4 separate regions of the Homo sapiens genome follow, and regions 1, 3 and 4 are each linked to region 2. The links are contacts of gene promoters, found by promoter capture Hi-C in blood cells and fetal thymus (Javierre and others, 2016). All regions are on one chromosome and are shown on one strand. Each heading gives the region's core, a stretch centred on a gene start or on the middle of the fragment in contact. The rest is flanking DNA. Distances are from core to core; before and after follow the strand shown.

Region 1 (2,828 bases), core at 103-2,602, 340 kb before region 2:
CAAGTTTATTATTGATCCTTTTTCTCTACTAAGATGTGAGCTCCACAGGGCCAGGGATCTCTCTTTTGTTCCTTGATACAGCCCCAGCCTAGAGGAGGCTGAGCTGTAGAAAACCTCTGTATTTATTGAATGAGTGAGTACTGTCTCTATAAACTAGAAATCCAGGCCATAGATTGAGAGAAGCTGGATGGCATCAGGATTCCAGAGTGCAGGAAAAGTTTTAAGCAGTTACAAGAGGGGGGTTTTGGCAGTCCATGTTAGGTTAGTAAGAGGAATTCTTGGTGGCAGCAGGTGCTTATGCTAGTGTTAGTAGGTAACAGAGCTCATTGCTGTTTCTGAGACTACATGTGGCAGTGTCAGGCGGTCTGGAAATGACTGAAGGTTGGGATGATACAGAAGTATGGATAGCAAGCATAGTGAAAGGAAGGAAGGTCGGGGGCCTCGGCTGTTACAGATGACGATATTGAAGTGACTGAGCATGATGAGACTCAAGCCAACTAAAATGGCTAGGAAAGAAGCAGAGAGAATGGGGTTGCAGCCAGGACTTGAAAAGGCTCAGACCCTAGCAAGGGTAGACTGGAGGCTAACGAGGCTGGGTCAGCAAGGCAAGTTCCTTCTGTCTTGGTATCTTAGAGATGACAATGTAGTAGAAAAGTCTGAAAAGGAGCTCTTTCAAAATCAAGTTCTCCAAAGTCTGAAGGGACAGCAGCCTGAACTTTGTGTCCATACTGTAGCCTGTCATTTTAGAAAAAGCAAAATGTGGGAATCTCTCTATTTGGCCCTGTTATGACAACACTACCTGAAAATTTTAGCTGAAAGCAGAAAATCCTTGGAAAGAAAATTGTTTTAAAAGACTGTTGCTTTCTTATATAAAGAGTTACCATCTACCTTTTCACCAGCAGATGTCACCCTCATTTAAAAAACAAAAGGCAAAAGCTTACTAGGCAAAGAGTAACCAAAATTTCCATCTTGCTGAAAGTTTTTTAAAATTATATATGTAGTTATTAAATGGTTGCTATCTTAATATTTCTTAAATAAAACAAATGATTTGTTGAAAAATCATAAAGAAACTAAAGTTCCCATTGCCTTCCTGTATTCTCCTGCTGCATGAAAATGCTGATATGCAAAAGGGTAGGTTCCCATGTGAGTCCTTATCTGTGAGGTATGGCCCTAGAGTCAGGTCTTTTTGAAGAAGGGGAATGTCAAGATTGCTTTGATGCCCTGGTTTTTTAGACAGTAATAGACCCATAAGTGAGGATCTGAAAAGAGTTTATGGCTAGACAAAAAAAGAAAATGCCCATTTAATTTATCTGTGTTACAAGAATAGATCCAGATTTTGAGATCTTCCACTTATCCCTTCAGATTATTAAGTGGCTGCTTGATTCAAAGATCCAAAAATTACTGGCTTAAGTCAGAAGGTTTATCACTGCATAATATAAAAGAGACCCAGAGGTGTACAGCTCAACTGGGTCAGAATTCCGCATTCCTCTGTCTGTTGCTTTGCTGAGTGAGGCTTCTCTTCCCTTTTCTTAGGGTCCAGGATGACCTGTAGACTACCAGCCATAGCATTAGCATTGCAAGCTGGAAATATCACTGTGAGAACAAGTACGTGGGTAAACTGAGTGTGCCATGCTTGCATTATACTCCGGGACCCTTGGTCTTTTTATTAATTGAATACATGCTTTGTGGCATTTTTTTCTGTTTGTAAAATAATGTGCTAGTACTTTAGTGTAGAGTAAATAGTTGTAAGGGAAATTCTCCCACCTGAAAAAGCTTGTGATCTGTCACAACTTGTAGTTTCTCAATCTCTGTTTCACTTTCAGTCTTTATGAAAACAGGTAATTATTTAGCGGTTTCTGAGAAACTAGCTTAAACTTTATCCTTTCCAATAATACAATGCCATTTCTAGACCAGCACCATTCAAAAGAAATAATGGAAGCCACAAATGTGAGCCACATGAATCATTTTAAATAGGCTAGTTGCATCATCTAAAAAGTAACAGGCGGAATTACTTTTAATAATGTTTAACTTGATATATCCAAAATATCGCCATTTCAATGTGAAAGCAACAGAAAAATTGTTAATGAGGTATTTCTCTTTTTTTTGGTGCTAAGTCTTTAGAATCCAGTATATGTTTTAATACTAAGTACATCTCAATTTAGACCTCAAGGCTCAATAGCCACACTTGGCCAGTGGCTGCTGTACTGGGCAGCACATGGTCATCCTTCCCCTCTACACTTGTCTGAGATTTCCAGTCAATTGCACAAGCTTTAAATACTCTGTGTGTCTTCTTTATTTCCCCAGTTCATTGTTGATTCACTTAAGTGAGAAACCTAAGTGCTCCAGTGCCTTCCTACGGCAACCAACACAGTCCTGGACTCAGACCAGGAAATTCTTGTTTGACTTTTGGATGTGTTTAGTAGGAAAGAAAGCTTCCTTCAGGCAGCACTGTCCAGTAGGTAGCTGAAGAAGGAGGCTGGACTTGGAGCTCGAGGGCAACACTGGGACAGTACTCAGGCATCAGTAGCACAGAAATGATGGTCAGAATGGTGAGCATGGACAACCTCTCCAGAGAGTCCAGGGCTGGAGAATGAGTACAAAGACTTGAAGTCCATTAGCAGTGAGAGGGCCAGCAGAGCACAAAGGCGTCTCTGAGGGGCACAGGAGGGGCGTGGGCCACGCATTCAGACAAGCCTGATGTGCTTGTGCTCGTTCACTGGTCCTGTTGTGCTCATAGCTCAAGGCTGTTATAAAGTAAAAGCACCTGCGTTTCTAAGAGAGTGATTTCATTTCTCCATACTTAATATGTTCCTGTTTCTTCTTGATAA
Region 2 (3,119 bases), core at 620-3,119:
CAGGTGGTACTCCCCCTTCCCTCCAACACATTCCAGGTCCGCCTGCCACATTCTGCAGGGAGAGGGCAGAGGGAGGGGCCTGTCCGCCCTCTTTCCCCCCAGAGCTACAGGACTCTCTCCTGGTTGGCTTCTTGTGCTTGTGCCATGTGCCACGGAGGAGAGGGGCCTGCGTCCCCTCTCCCGACCCATGCCCTTTGCGCCCTTTACCCCTTAAAGCGGGGCATCGTACTGGTCCAGGAACTCCCGAATGGGCCCCGGCAGCTGGGTGACTTTCTCATAGGAGTCCAGGTGGCCGTTGACGGTCTTCCGACAGAGATGCTGAAGAGTGGCCACGTTGGAGGAGAGGGGCCGGCTCAACACCAGGGGGATCTTCTCGCCCCCGGAGTAGATGTAATAGGCTCTTCTGGGGGGACTCCCAGGGAGTGGCTGGGCAGACGGCTGCTCGGGCACCTCGGAGGAGGGTTCAGTAGGTGGCGAGGGGAAGGAGGGGGCTCCAGGGGGCGGCATGTAGTGGTGCACCAGCTTGAGCACGCAGTCGAAGCGGGGCACGGGCTGCGTGCTCCGGGGATCGCTCTGCAGAGAGAAGCTGCCCCCCTCACACTGGATGCGCAGGTTCTTGGTCCCAGACTGGGTCTTGACGCTGAGCGTGAAGAAGTGGCGCTGGTCCGAGCTGTCGCGGATCAGAAAGGTGCCGGCGGGCTCGGCACTGAGCAGCAGGTTCGCCTCGCCGCCGGTCACTGCGCTCCAGTAGAAGCCGCTCTCCTGCAGCTTGCGCACTGCGTTCACCACCAGCTGGTACTCGCTCTTGGAGCTGAAGGTCTTGAGGCGCAGGCTGGTGTCCAGGGGGCGGCTCATCCCGGCGGCGGGAAACTTGCTGTGGGTGACCATGGCGCACGGAGCCAGCGTGGATCTGCGCGGCGGCGGCTGCAGCTGCTTCGCGGCCTCCGCACAGCGGCCGCTACCGCATCCCGGGGGGCTGCGGAGAGGAAGGCGCGAGCGCGTTGAGTGCCCGGAACCCTCCAGCGCGCCCGGCCCGCCCCGGCTCCCCTGCCTTCGCCGAGCGACTGGGGCACCCACTGCCCCGGGGGCCCTCTCCTGGGCCCGCGCTCCGATCCAGGCGCCTCACGGAGCCCGCACGGCTCCCGCCCCTGCCGGCAGGGTGGCCCCGGGCAGCCCCTTCCCAGGCGCGCACTGCAAGGGCGCAGCGTGGGAAACTCGCGCGCGGAAGTTAGGTCTCCAGGAGTGTGGCCGGGTGGGGAGCAGGAGAAGGGCCCCCGGGACTGCCTGGGCGCCGCTCAGTCCAGTAGCCCCGGGCGGTGTGGACGGAGGGAGAAACCCGAGGCACGGGGGTAGGGAGGGGACAGGAGAAGCCCGAAGGCCCCAGCCGGAGTATTCCGGGAACCTGGGATCTCCGGCTTCCATCCGCTCTGCCCCTACCTCGTCACCTCCCTGCCGGGAATGACCCGGGAAGGGGAGGGGAAACCGGGAAAAGCTCCCGGGACTGAGCGAGACCCCTCCCCACGCCGCGCTCCTCCTTCCTACCTGGTCCCGAATCGAAGTCTCCGTCCTTGGGGCTGAGCCCCCTCGGGTCCCCAAGGCGACGCGGCGGCGAGACGGCCAGCGGTGGCCCGCGCTGCGCCCAGATGTTGGCGGCCGTGAAGTCCACAAAGGAGCCTTCGCGCGCGCGTCCCTCGAGCTTCCCCTGGGCGCCCGCCCTGCCCCCTGCGCACCCCCGGACCAACCGGGAGGGGACCAGGAGAGGGACCGCGGCAAGGGGCCGCGGCGGGAGCTGGGCCGGGCGGGCGGCTGGCGGCTGGCTGCGTGCGGGGCCGAAGCGGCAGCAGCGGAGCAGGGAGTCCAAGTCGGAGCCGCCGCGGAGGCCGCGCTCGCGGGTATATAGGCGGCCGCCGCGCCCCGCCCCCCGATTCCTGGAACTGCGCGGCCGGCCTTCTTGTAATGTTTAGTCACTACTCGCAGCAGAGAAAGGCTGAGCGCGGAGGGTGAGGGAGGGGCCGCGGGCGCCGAGGGCGGGCCGCGAGCAGGGGCAGGGACCGGGAGGGACGCGCGCGGAGACAAAGCGCGACGAGAGGCGGCCGAGGCGGCCGGTGGGCGCGGCGCCAGCCCCGGCGGCGCGTTCCTGGCAGCGGCCCCTCCCCGCCGCGCGCTCCGCCCCCAACTTCTCATTCACACTTTCCCCCCACCCCCCTCCCTTCTAAGAAGGCTGATTTCTGGCAGAGGCGGGGGCGCCGCTTCGGGAGAGCGGGCAGTTCTAGGAGGCCGACCTGGAGAGCCTCCCGGTTCCCCTTCCCCTTTTCCCGGACCCCGCGGGGACACCCCCTCGCCGCCACCCGGGCCTCCCCGAGGGCCCAACTGCGGGTCAGGCGGCCCGGGCCAGCCGAAAGGGAAGTGGGGCTACCCCACAGCCAGGCAGCGGGGCTGGGGTCAGACCCGGGAGCCGGAGGTTGGAGACGTGCGACAGTCACCTGCGGGCAGATTCCAGAGGGGAGACCCAGGGCTGCAGGGGACGCCCCTTCGTGGCAGCTACCCAGCCTCGGCCCACTGCCAGGTTCTTTGCCAACCCTGACGCGAGTGTGGAGCCCCCCTCCCCTCCCCTATGAAAACGCTTTCATGCACTGGGGTCTGCAAACCTGGTTGGTCCGGTGTGGGTTGGGCCAGGTGCTCTCGGCCGGGCTGGAGAGCTCGAGGTGGAACGATGGCCCCAACCTACGGCCCGCGTCCGCCAGAGGGCGCCCTGGGGTCTCCTAGGGGAGGGCAGTTTGGTGCTGCGCGGCCCAGGCCTTGGAATAGGCACGCCAGGGATCTGCGGGAATGGCTGTCTCCGGAGCTGGAAAGGTGGCCGAGAAGGGGGCATTCACACCCCAGGCTGGGGTCAGACCTGGGAATAAAATTCTAGCAGGAGAGAATTTCCGGAAAGCAGTTTTCCGGGGTTCAGGCTACTGCCAGATGGCCCACACCCCCTGGAATGTGACCCCCTGCCTCTCTTGGGGTGGGGGAGGACTTGATCACTGGCGGGGAGGGGGTAGAGGGGAGGAGAGGAAGTGATTGAGGTGAAAGATTGGTTTGCTGCTGGTCACGTTGGCACTGACGTAGATAGTTTG
Region 3 (3,022 bases), core at 449-2,948, 270 kb before region 2:
GCGCACTAAAAAAGTGGATAAGACATTAATCTTTTAAAAGTGCTCTGTGCCTCCAGAATATGTGTCAGCCATGGCTGGGCGCCGTGGCTCATGCCTGTAATCCCAGCACTTTGGGAGGCTGAGGCAGGCAGATCACGAAGTCAGTAGTTTGAGACCAGCCTGGCCAACATAATGAAACCCCGTCTCTACTAAAAATACAAAAATTAGCTGGGCGTGGTGGCACACGACTGCAATCCCAGCTACTCGGGAGGCTGAGGCAGGAGAATTGCTTGAACCCGGGAGGCAGAGGTGGCAGTGAGCTGAGATCACGCCATTACACTCCAGCCTGGATGACAGAGCGAGACTCCATCTAAAAAAAAAAAAAAAAAAAAAAAAAAAAAAAACAGTATGTGTCAGCCACAGTATGGGCCAAGAAGAGTGGCTAGGTTCTCTTTTTTTATTTTTTAACTAATGTCAGAAAGTTGAACCATTAGTTCAACTTACACTTAATTATCATACTATTTTAACTCTTCGTTCTGTCAACAGGCATACCAACGTTTACAAATCCAGCAGCAGATGTTACAGGCCCAGCGTAATGTGTCCGGATCCATGAGACAACAGGAGCAGCAAGTAGGTGCTACCCAGATTGATTTTTGTCATGAGCTATAATTTTCCCTGATAGAAGAGACGCTAATTGATGAACTATTAGATGATCATTGATTTTTCTCTAGCCAAGCCTTCCTTTGAAAATTCCTGGGTTCAGCTAGGTTTGGGAGGAGGTTGGCCTAGCCAGTAGTGGCCTCAGCATAAAGACAATGAAGAATGCATTTGGTCCCTAGACAAGCCATGAGTGTCCCTTCCCACCTAGTTAACGCACCTATGTCTCTGCCTGCCAGGTTGCGCGCACAATCACTAATCTGCAGCAGCAGATCCAGCAGCACCAGCGCCAGCTGGCCCAGGCCCTGCTCGTGAAGCAGCCACCACCGCCACCGCCCCCGCCGCACCTGTCTCTGCACCCCTCTGCAGGCAAATCGGCCATGGACAGCTTCCCCTCGCACCCACAGACTCCCGGCCTACCTGACCTGCAGACCAAAGAGCAGCAGTCTTCACCCAACACCTTTGCTCCTTACCCTCTCGGTGAGTGTCCCATGGTCTTCAACAGCCACATCAGGTAGAGAGGGTACCTGGAGTCCGTATGTGGTAGCCAGGGCAGCATTTCAGTGGTTAGGAGGACTGGCCAGCGCTGAAACCATAGCCTGTTGGAAATGCAGCCCCAGACAAAATCGGAGAGCAGGTATCTCAAGGCTTTTTAATTTTAAAAAAATTTTTTAATTATTTTTTTGAGAGATGGGGGTCTCACCATGTTGCTCAGGCTGGTCTTGAACTCCTGGGCTCAAGCAATCCTCCCACCTCAGCCTCTTAAAGTGCTGGGTTTATAGGTGTGAGCCACCATGCCCAGCCTCAAGGATTTGTAATAAGGGAACAACACTAACCACGTTGTATAGAGCAGGAGTTTTGCCGCTGCCAATAATACTCTCAGTATAAAACCTTTAAAGGTAGTACCAGTCAGAGCCCCCAAAATCTCATTTCCATTGTCAAATCTCCAAAGTTTGTTCTGTTCCTAGTCTACTCTGAACTGTACTTTACCAGCCACTGTCCTCCAGCCTAAACCACAGAGAAGACTTTATAATGGTTTGGTCAGTAAAAGTATTCAGATTTACATTAAAAGCACTTCTTAAAAAGCAGTGGTTGTTGATACAACTCATTTTGTATGAAATGTGATTTGTATAATCGACCAAATCAACATATATATGTTGAAATCTAACTTGTAGAAGCACACTCAGCACTTGAAACCCGCAGGTCAGTAGAAGACATGGTGCCAGGCCTCGAGGTCAGGCCAGTCAGGAGAGACACAGCTCACATACCTGAAGACACCAGAGGGTATAAATTAGTAAATTGATTCTGCATGGACTAATTTGCCGTAAGAATTCAGAAGTTAGTGAAAGCACTTTAGGCTTGTCTGTTGATTGCTATTAGAGTCTGTAGATACAGGACAAAGGGTTATCGGTAACTTGGAAAATACATCTGTAAAGGGGCAAAGGCCAGTTGAGTGGTAGTGAATTTGCTGCCAGCAGATAATATTCATTTATCTAATTCTATTCAATGTCTCTGAAAAGAGCGGTATATTGTAATCATATGAATCCTTTTTACTTGACATATTATAAATGTGGTATATCTTTAATATGAGATTGATAAATACTAGACTAGATGATCTCGTTCCTTAATTATTGTCTCATCCATTAGAGCCCTTTGTGTCGAAGTAGGTAAGACCTGACTTAGGAATTAGACTCCCTAGGTTTGAGTCCCAACTCACCACCAAGAGGCTCACTACTAACTTGGGCAACTTGCCTAGCTGCTGTTTGCTTCAATTTCTTTATTTTTCTTTCTTTTTTTTTTGGTAGAGACAGGGTCTTTCTATGTTGCCCAGGCAAGTCTCAAAACTCCTGGCCTCAAGTGATCCTCCCTAAGTGTTAGGATTACAGGCCTGAGACACCATACTGAGCCATGCCTTAATTTCTTCATCTGTAATGTGGAAATACTTAACTCCTAGGTTTGTTTTAAAGATTAAATGAGCTAATATGTAAAGTTCTCTTTTTTCTTTTTTTTTTCTCTCTCTTTTTTTTTTTGGCTGGAGTGCAGTGGCGTGATCATAGCTCATTGCAGCCTCAAACTCCTGGCCTTAAGTGATCCTGCTGGTCTCAGCTTCCCAAAGTGCTGTGATTACAGGCATGAGCCATCACACCTGGCCTAATATGTAAAGTTCTTAAATAGTGCCTAGCACATAGCAAACACTTTGTAAAATGTCAGCTACTTATGTAAGTGCTTCTGTTTTAGAAACAAATTTCATCCCACCTATTATCCTAAAATGCATTAGCTTCAGCTTTCTATTATTCACCTGTCTTCTTAACCTATATTTGGAGGATAAAGTACACTTATCGTTACTTTTTTTTTTTTTTTTTTTTTTTTTTGAGATAGAGTCTTG
Region 4 (3,014 bases), core at 279-2,778, 320 kb after region 2:
TACATGGCGTGGCCCAGTGGAGCCAACAGAGCCGAGAGGTAGGAGTCAGAGGCCTGGACTTGGGAGCTCCACTTCTTAGCTGTGGAACCCTGAGGAAGCTTCTCCCTCCTCCCGGACCTTGGATCACGGTATGTGACTTCCAGCAAATTTCTTAACCTCTATGGGCCTCAGTTTCCTCATCTGTAGCTAGGAAAATGGTGTCTCACAGGATTCACAAATTACAGAACATGACTACTATCTCCTCTGAGCTGTCACTATGAGAATGAGAGCGGCTTCGTCAGACACAGAAAGACCAGTTGAGCAGATGGCATCTGTGTGGGTAGCTCACTCGCCTCTTCCTATTTTGGGTCTATGAGGACACGTGGGGAACCCAGATGGGACGTGCTCTCTTACATATGCTATAATAGCCAAGAATCCAAAGGCCTCCTGGGAAGCCGTCAGCTGGGAACCAGGACGAAGCTTCCCTAAGAACTTGGAGCACAGAAGAGATGCGGGCGGCATGTTTAACCACTAAGATGATCAACACCTGGTGAGGTGAGGGCTGCACCAGGCGCGCACTGCCCTTTCTCAGCAGTCACTTACTTAATGCACTTAATCCACTCCTCCTTCTCCTCGGGCGTCGGAGCTGAGATCCGGTAAACAGTGTGGTTCCCCTCCACCACCCGCCCGTCAGCCTCGGTCTTGCAGGCCTTGATAACTTGGTCTTTATTGTCGGGGATATAAAGCTCAAAGCAGTTCTGAGAATCAAAACAGAGAGGGAGAGAGTGGAGCAAAGGAAGCTGTTAACTGAGAAACATGCTGATTTCTTTCCCCAAAACCCCTTTCTTCTGACCTTCACAAAATACAAGGAATACATATTTTCCTGTGGAAAAGTGAAGCCTAGAAGCGGAATTCTAGAGACTGTAAATTGTATAGAAGTCAGTCTCGTTTGCAAACACACCGGCCTGATATAAGCTGGCCCCACTTGCAATGTACGTAAAATGCGGAGAGAACTGCAGGTGACTCACGACTTTAACTTCAAGCCAGTAACATCCTGACAGCCCAAAACAAAGGAAAACTAAACGGGAGGTGTCCCAAGGGTATAAACTACATAGCCCACTCCTGCGTGCTTGCCGCTGCCATTGCAGGAGGGGCAACTTCTACACCCCATGTGACATTCACTAAGTGAAACGATAAAGCAGACAGACGGCACAGGAAGAAGTGATTTCGAGTCTCATCTTTGGCTTGAACAATATAATAAAAAATTAGACTAAATAAAAGCCTGATCACGCTTTTCAGTTTTTTGGTTTTGAGTTTTTTAAAAAAAATCTTTGAAATGCCCATCCCCTTTCTCCCCTCAAAATATCTCAGCAAAAATACTCACTGGTTTTTTGGAGTCCTCCACTTCCCGGATACTCAGATTCTCTAAAGGGATGATTCCACGGGGCTCCTTATCCTACAGAACAGTTGAAGAGAGGAAGTTTAAGATCACAGTTTAAGGACACACACTGTCAGATTCCTCGCCGGTGACTCAGCCGAACTTTCCTGCTTTCTCCCAGGACATGAAGTTCATAAATCAGCCTGAGGGAACTCCTTACATTCTAAACAAGAATAACACCAAAAATGTCTGAGGATTGTCAATATAACTGCTAAGTCCTCCGCGAGTAGAAAGACCAGAAGATTCAACAGACACCGTGAGAGTGTGGCCGGCAGTGACCCGGGCACGGTCCTCAAGCAGGGAGTGTGCGGGCCCCTTTCCCTCTTCCCTTTGCCTGGCTCTCCCACTCACCTCTGAAGCCTCAGTTCTGGGGCAACAACTCCAGGAAGCCTTTCCTAGTTTCACCCTAGCGCCCCGATGCCTGGGACTGCAGCTGTGGGTCTGACCATTAACCACTCACTGCCTCTGTCCATCGCCCCACCGCCAGACAGTACAATCCTCAGAGACACTGCCATCCTGACAACTCCACCTGGATTTCCAAAGGCACCTTGACTCCTGTCCAGAACAGAGCTGCACCCGCCAACTAGTCCCATCTCATCTACAGAGGGCACGGCACCGCAGACACTTCCAGCACACGCCTGACGGCAGTTTCACAGTCCCCTGATATCCAGCCAACCCATGGCCAAGTCCTAGCACTGTTAAAGTCTTTATATTTGGCCAGGAGAATGGTGTGAACCCAGGAGACGGAGCCTGCAGTGGGCCCAGATAGCGCCACTGCACTCCAGCCTGGGTGACAGAGCAAGACTCTGTCTCAAAAAAAAAAAAAAAAAACCAACCAGTTCTATGAGTTCTCTAAAAGCGAAAAAGAGTCTTTCAGCCATTTCCCCATCCTGGCTAGCAACTATTTCCAACTTCTTCAAGCCAACCTGCTTGGTCTTTACCTCTGTATCTCACACATCTCCAAAATACCATATTAGAACTGCCTTTTGACTGCTTGATTTTAGATGTTATCTACAGAAGAGGACTGAGCTCCTCTTACCCGGGCATATTCATATTCCCCGTCCTCCTAAAATAACTATCTGGTCATCTGAGGTAGGGCTATACACAGTGTCTTCATTAACACCACGTTTCTCTTCCGACCTGTGCCATATAGTGAACTTCCTAATTTTTTCCTTCCTGAAAAGCTTCCTTCCCCACTGGAACCAAAATTATGGAGGGTGGAGAAGTGGGTTGTTCCTTTGATTTATATTTCTGTGACCTTACCACCAAAACCAATTGCAAATGGTTAACCTCTTATCAAAATCTCCTTGCTAATGCTAATTTGTATCAGGCATCCTATTAATTTTCATTTCTTGAAGTAATCCTTCCTGGAGCCTCTGAAACCTGTTCCAGTCTGGACTGGTTGCCTTGATACTCGGTAAACTGCTTCATCCTTAACCTCAGCACTCTCCATTCCAGAGCACTCTTCCCTCCTCTCTTGAAACAAGAGGTTTCAAGATCTCTGGTTTCCTACAGCCAAGGCCTTTGTCCTCCACCAGCATCCTGAGAAAGGGTGTGTGGGTGGTAACATTTCTGAAATCTCACTTGGCTAAGAATG

What was found. The method cuts DNA at HindIII sites, captures the fragments that hold promoters and counts their contacts. A CHiCAGO score of 5 or more calls a contact.
Region 1: a contact is called between a fragment that was not itself captured here and the fragment with the promoter of SOCS3 in region 2, in 1 of 17 cell types (M2 macrophages). The highest score is 6.6, in M2 macrophages.
Region 3: a fragment that was not itself captured here is called in contact with the fragment with the promoter of SOCS3 in region 2 in 3 of 17 cell types (M2 macrophages, M0 macrophages and M1 macrophages); the score reaches 6.6 in M2 macrophages.
Region 4: a contact is called between a fragment that was not itself captured here and the fragment with the promoter of SOCS3 in region 2, in 1 of 17 cell types (monocytes). The highest score is 5.2, in monocytes.

What each region holds. Positions count from the first base shown.
Region 1 is chr17:78,018,665-78,021,492 of GRCh38, forward strand. The region is part of intron 3 of TNRC6C (trinucleotide repeat containing adaptor 6C); the gene reads left to right. Among named protein-coding and RNA genes, the nearest start is that of TNRC6C, 61 kb to the left of the region's middle. The HindIII fragment of the contact is 837 bases long and covers 935-1,771 here.
Region 2 is chr17:78,358,208-78,361,326 of GRCh38, forward strand. It overlaps SOCS3 (suppressor of cytokine signaling 3), which reads right to left and starts at 1,870. Exons shown (of 2, transcript NM_003955.5): 1 at 1,543-1,870; 2 at 1-976. The coding sequence starts at 888. The coding sequence ends at 211. It overlaps SOCS3-DT (SOCS3 divergent transcript), which reads left to right and starts at 2,241. Exons shown (of 5, transcript NR_110847.1): 1 at 2,241-2,566. RefSeq lists silencers at 982-1,221, 1,632-1,911, 1,922-2,231, 2,292-2,491, 2,722-2,771 and an enhancer at 1,226-1,874. The HindIII fragment of the contact is 6,903 bases long and covers 1-3,119 here.
Region 3 is chr17:78,085,978-78,088,999 of GRCh38, forward strand. It overlaps TNRC6C (trinucleotide repeat containing adaptor 6C), which reads left to right. Exons shown (of 23, transcript NM_001142640.2): 14 at 526-609; 15 at 876-1,116. Among named protein-coding and RNA genes, the nearest start is that of TMC6, 41 kb to the right of the region's middle. The HindIII fragment of the contact is 4,187 bases long and covers 1-3,022 here.
Region 4 is chr17:78,679,608-78,682,621 of GRCh38, forward strand. It overlaps CYTH1 (cytohesin 1), which reads right to left. Exons shown (of 14, transcript NM_004762.6): 12 at 1,364-1,435; 13 at 583-737. Among named protein-coding and RNA genes, the nearest start is that of SCAT1, 49 kb to the left of the region's middle. The HindIII fragment of the contact is 2,142 bases long and covers 458-2,599 here.